Regions from separate parts of the Homo sapiens genome. Here region 1 is linked to region 2. The links are contacts of gene promoters, found by promoter capture Hi-C in human tissues and cell types (Jung and others, 2019). All regions are on one chromosome and are shown on one strand. Each heading gives the region's core, a stretch centred on a gene start or on the middle of the fragment in contact. The rest is flanking DNA. Distances are from core to core; before and after follow the strand shown. Region 1 overlaps CBX7 (chromobox 7). Region 2 holds the start of MGAT3 (beta-1,4-mannosyl-glycoprotein 4-beta-N-acetylglucosaminyltransferase).

Region 1 (2,700 bases), core at 57-2,556, 320 kb before region 2:
ATTTACATGAATCTACAAAAGATTCATGGTGCCAAGATGTTGGGAGACTCTGGATCACTGGGACAGTACCTTCTCCTGCCACCTGCTACCAGAGGTCAGGAGCTCCCAGGAAGATAGTGCAGCCATCAGATGGGACCTGTGAGGTCAAACACCTCCAAGCTGAGGGAAGGGATGACACACGCAGGTCCCACTCACAGTCGTGCCTGTTAACGGCATCACATGTCCCCAGGTGCCGGCTGCTGCAGTGATGGGAGGAGGGCTAAACTGGGAGGGGACTGGGAAAATACTGCAGTGCCTGGGAGGCACATCTGGTAGGCAGCTGACTCAAAACCCACTCCTCCCAGCGGGCTCACAGGCCATCAGAAGCCTAGTATGGGCCAGGCACAGTGGCTCACGCCTGTAATCCCAACACTTTAGGAGGCCGAGGCAGCTGGATCACCAGAGGTCAGGAGTTCAAGGCCAGCCTGGCCAACATGGCGAAACCCCATCTCTACTAAAAATACAAAAATTAGCCGGGTGTGGTGGCAGGTGCCTGTAATCCCAGCTACTTGGGAGGCTAAGGCAGGACAATCATTTGAACCCAGAAGGCAGAGCTTGCAGTGAGCAGAGATCGCACCACTGTATTCCAGCCTGGGCGACAGAGCGAGACTCTGTCTGGGAAAAAAAAAAAAAAAAAAAAAGAAGCCCAGTACATTCTACCATTCTGCAAGGCAGGGTCTTCTACGTCCTTGGCAACCTCATCACGAGAGAACTACAGCTACTAAAGGGACGCGGGTGCCAACAGTCAGGTCCTGGGTAAGCTACCGGCCTCCCTGGGCCTCAGTTTCTTTCTCAGCGAAACAATGAAGAGACTGTAGGAGCCAGCCTCCGAGGAGGGCCCCAACCACACCCACCTCCTGGAATTCACACCTATGCGCCGTCCATTCCCACACCCAGTGCTGTGTTGTGTGACTTCCCAGGCTAGGGCATAAAAGACACTGTGGCTTCTTCCCTGCTCTCTCTCTCAGGTCACCCACTCTGGGAAGCTGGTGGCTGCACTGTAAGGACACTCAAGCAACCCTCTGGAGAGGTCCACATGGTGAGGACCAGTCCCTGTCAACGTCCAGCCCTGACTCGATGGCACGTGAGCAGCCCCCTCGGAGGCAGATCCCGCAGCCCTGGTCGAGCCTGCAGATGACTGCAGCCCAGCCAACACCTTGACTGCAGCCCAGACTAGAACCACTGAAGAACCAGCTAGCACAATTCCAAATTCCTGACCCCCAGAAGCCATGTGAAATAATCAATGTTTATTGCTTTGAGTTGCCATGTTAGAGGGGAAGAGATAACGAACACACCTGCCCTGTAGGCTTAGTATGTGGATGGAGTATATTCATCTGTGAGGCACACTGGGCAGACAGCCTGGCACACAGACGTCCAGGAGATGTTACTTCCCTTCCTAGGCTCAATTCATGCCAAACCCAATGGAACATGCCCACTGCATGAAGGGAGGCCCACCCCCTCTGGCGAAAGCCTCCATGGGTTTTAATCAGGAGTGGCCAAGGACGCTTGACATGGACCACATACAAGTGGACCAAGAATCCTGACTTTCTGGCTTCCAATATCCTGCCTGGTGGGTCTTATTACATTAAGGAGAGCGGGTATTCTCTTCATACCCATTTTACAGGTGAAGAGGCTTACCTACAACCACACACAGGCAGAGCATTCCTTATCCGAAATGCTTGGAACCAGAAGTGTTTCAGACTTCGAATTTTTTTAGGATTTTGGAATATTTGCATTATATATACTAGCTGAGCATCCCCAATCCAAAAATCTGAAATTTAGACTGCTCCAATGAACACTTCCTTTGAACATCATTTTGGTGCTCAAAATGTTTTGGATTCTGGAGCATTTCAGATCTTGTTTTTCTTGTTGGGGTGGGGGGGCGGGGCGGCAGGGGACGGAGTTTCACTCTTATCACCCAGGCTGGAGTGCAATGGTATGATCTTGGCTCCCTGCAACCTCCACCTCCCGGGCTCAAGTGACTGTCCTGTCTCAGCCCCCTGAGTAGCTGGGATTACAGGTGCCCGCCACCATCCCCAGCTAATTTTTGTATTTTTAGTAGAGACAGGTTTTCACCATGTTGGCCAGGCTGGTTTTGAACTTCTGACCTCAGGTGATCCACCCGCCTCGGCCTCCCAAAGTGTTGGGATTACAGGCATGAGCCACCGCACATGGCAGCATTTTGGATTTTGGATCAGGGAGACTCAACCTGTGACTGCACTGCTCCAAGATCCACGTCCCTGTCACTGCAAAGCACTGAGGTCAGGAAAGGCCCCCAAGACCTACGACGTGGGTACTCCGGGATGCTGCAGAGACTTGGGTCCCCAACTGACTGAAGGCTGGAACAGGAGGCCCACTCAAAAATGACACACTTCTAGGGGTCTGACATTCCAAGGCTGTAGTTCTACAATTCTAAGATTCTGTTTCTGGCTGGGCGCGGTGGCTCACGCCTGTAATCCCAGCACTTTGGGAGGCCAAGCCGGGCGGATCATGAGGTCAGGAGATCGAGACCATCCTGGCCAACACGGTGAAACCCCGTCTCTGCTAAAAATACAAAAATTTAGCCAGGCGTGGTGGCGGGCGCCTGTAGTCCCAGCTACTGGGGAGGCTGAGGCAGGAGAATGGCGTGAACCCGGGAGGTGGAGCTTGCAGTGAGCCAAG
Region 2 (2,700 bases), core at 12-2,511:
GTATTGTCTATGGTTGATTTTATGCTACGATGGCAGAGTTGAGTAGTTGGGACAGAGACCATATGGCTGGCAAAGCCTAAAAGATTTACAATCAATCTCTTAAAGCAAATGGTTTGCCCACCCTTGCTTAGAGAGAGCCTCCAGGAAGAAAAGAGCAGTGAGGGTGACGTTGAAGAAGGGGGCAAGACTAGGTCACCAGGGGCTCCCTGTGCCCCGCCCAGGCACTGAACTTAAGCTGAGGGCAAGTGGGAGCCATTGAAGGTGCAGGCAGGAGAGTGACCTGCTCAAGTGAATGTTGGAGTAGGATCACTCTGCCTCCTCAGCAAGGATGGATGAAGCTGGGCACGGAGGCACCTGGAGCAGGTAGACCAGCCCTAGGCAGCCCGGATGGTTCAGCAAAGGCCTCTGGGACTATTCTGGAGCACATTCGCTGGGATATAGAATAGGTAGCGCATCCCTGCACCTTCGACGATGGCGGCGCAGAGATGTCTGCTGCGTACCCACAATGCCTTGTGCCTCGCACCGCGGGAGGAAGTGGCTGCTCTGTAGGCCCCAGAACGGAACCACTTGAAAGGCGGGAAACACGTGGGGGACGCCTCTGAGCCCTGAGAGGAATGGCCTAGAGCAAGGCCACGAGGAGCCAGGGCACGACACGGTGGGCCCTCGGAGAACCGCTGGTGGGCAAGTGGCAGGAGAGTAGGCTCAAGAGGGTTGGCAGGGCCGACCGGGCCTAGGGTGGCCGGGTGAGGGGGGCGGGGGAGGGGAGGCCCCCCCAGTTACCCCAGGAGTGCGCAGGTGGCTTCGGGCATGTGAGGGACGGAGGGGGTCGGACGGAAGGACACAGGCCGGTGTACAGCGGTCACCCACGCCCCAAGCAGACACACAGACTCTGCAGACACCGTAACAGGCCCGGCACCGTGCACACATCACAGGCCCAGGCCTCTGCACATGGTCACAGATGCCTATGCGAAATCCCGGCCCAGGTTCACGCGGGCACAGGCGCATCCACGCACACACCGCAACACGGATCTGCACGTCCATGCACACACAGGCACAGACTCGGGCACACGGAGTCACACCGACCCGGGCACGCTGCGGAACGCACCCGTCCACGCATACACAGAACGGGACTTGCTGCCCCGCACGCACACCAGGCCCGCACTCCGAACTACCCGCATTCCCCGCACACGCCCCCGCGCAGGCCGCCCCGGGCCGTGGGCCGGCGCACGCACGGTCACAGGAGGGGCGCGCGCACACTCGCACTCACACACACTCGCTCGCACACGCACACACTCGATCCAGCACGCGCGGGCGGCGCGGGGCGGCGGCGGCCGGAGTCTGCGGTGCGAGGCGCCCCCGGCCCGGCGCGGCGGCGGAGCCCGGCTGGCGGGGGAGGGGAGGGGGTTGCGGAGGGGGCGGGGTGGGGGCCGGAGCCGCTTGAGCCGGCGGGAGCGGGCACCCCTGCGCGCCGCGCTCGGCCTCGCCTCCGCGCCCCCCGCGCGCCCGCCGCGGTCCCTCCCCCGCGCCCGTCCGCTCGCCGGGCCCCCGCCGCCGCCCCGGGGTGCAGCCGAGCGGCCGCGCCGGGTCCCCGGGACGGGGTGGAAGTGGGGGTGGGGGGAGGGGATCGGGGCCGGGCCGGGGCCGCGCTGCCTGCGATGCCGGGCGCCCGCCGCAGCCGCTGCCGCCGGAGCCCGGGATGGGGCGAGAGGCTGCGGCGGACGCCAGCATCTCCCCGCCGGGGACCCCGGGGGCCGCGGAGCCGCCGCCGCCGCTGCTGCCGCCGTTGCTGAGACCCAGCGGGCGATGGGTGAGTTGACCCCGGCGTCCTGGGGGGCGCCGCGGCCCCTCTATCCCCGCGCTGCCCGCCCTCCCGCGCTGCGCTTGGCGCCCCCCGCCCGGCTCCGCGGCCCACTCCCCGAGCGTGACCTTAGGGGGCGGGCGCGGGCGCACTGGGGCTGGGGGCCCGGAGGCCGCGGTGGGGGCGGGATGCCGGGGAAGCCGCTCGGCGCGGGCCCCCTCCCCCTACCCGCCGCTCCTCCGAGCTCCCCGGTCCCCGGAGGGCAGAGCCTCAGCGCCCGACCCCCTCCCACGGCCGGGCGGGGGACGTCCCCGAGGCGCGGGGCTCGAGCCGTGCTTTGTGCGCGGCACCCCCCAGCCTCCGGCGCGGCTCCCCCACAACCTCCGGCGCGGCGCGGGGCTGGGGTGGGAGGCCTCCGCGCCCGCCTTCCCCACCCCCGACCCCAGACTGCGGCGGCGGCAGCCGAGGCCCAAGCGCAGTCGGGGGCTGGGCGGGTGCGGGGGCTGCGGCCGTAGCTACCCCTGGGGACCAGGCAGAGGCAAATGTGGAGAGGGCCCCCGGCCATTTACCGGGGTGGGGGCCCCCGGCTCCTTGCATTGCTCTGCCCAGGGCGGGGGAGGGAACCTGGCTGAGGGAGGGCGCTATAAATATCTGCAAATAGTGAGTTCTGGAACCGGGAGTGGGGAGGGGAGTGCGCCTGGGTGTGTGTATGGTGGGGTTCCTGAGCTGGGGTGCAGCAGGAAGGGATGCCGCGCGGCCAGACCTAGTGGTCTGAGGTCGGATGACCCCCAGCCCCGGAAGATGCCCCTGAAGGCCCCTGATGGGGTGTGGGCAGACACACTACCCCAGTGGGATTCCTCCCTGGTTCCCCACTTCATTCCTGGGACACACCAGTCCAGATT

What was found. The method cuts DNA at HindIII sites, captures the fragments that hold promoters and counts their contacts. A contact is called where the count stands out against the background at its distance.
Region 1: a fragment that was not itself captured here is called in contact with the fragment with the promoter of MGAT3 in region 2 in 1 of the 25 tissues and cell types used here (hippocampus).

Annotation. Positions count from the first base shown.
Region 1 is chr22:39,135,433-39,138,132 of GRCh38, forward strand. The region is part of intron 4 of CBX7 (chromobox 7); the gene reads right to left. Among named protein-coding and RNA genes, the nearest start is that of CBX7, 16 kb to the right of the region's middle. RefSeq lists an enhancer at 1-647. The HindIII fragment of the contact is 3,206 bases long and covers 1-2,700 here.
Region 2 is chr22:39,455,751-39,458,450 of GRCh38, forward strand. It overlaps MGAT3 (beta-1,4-mannosyl-glycoprotein 4-beta-N-acetylglucosaminyltransferase), which reads left to right and starts at 1,262. Exons shown (of 2, transcript NM_002409.5): 1 at 1,262-1,807. RefSeq lists silencers at 1,188-1,247, 1,978-2,247, 2,258-2,387. The HindIII fragment of the contact is 12,980 bases long and covers 1-2,700 here.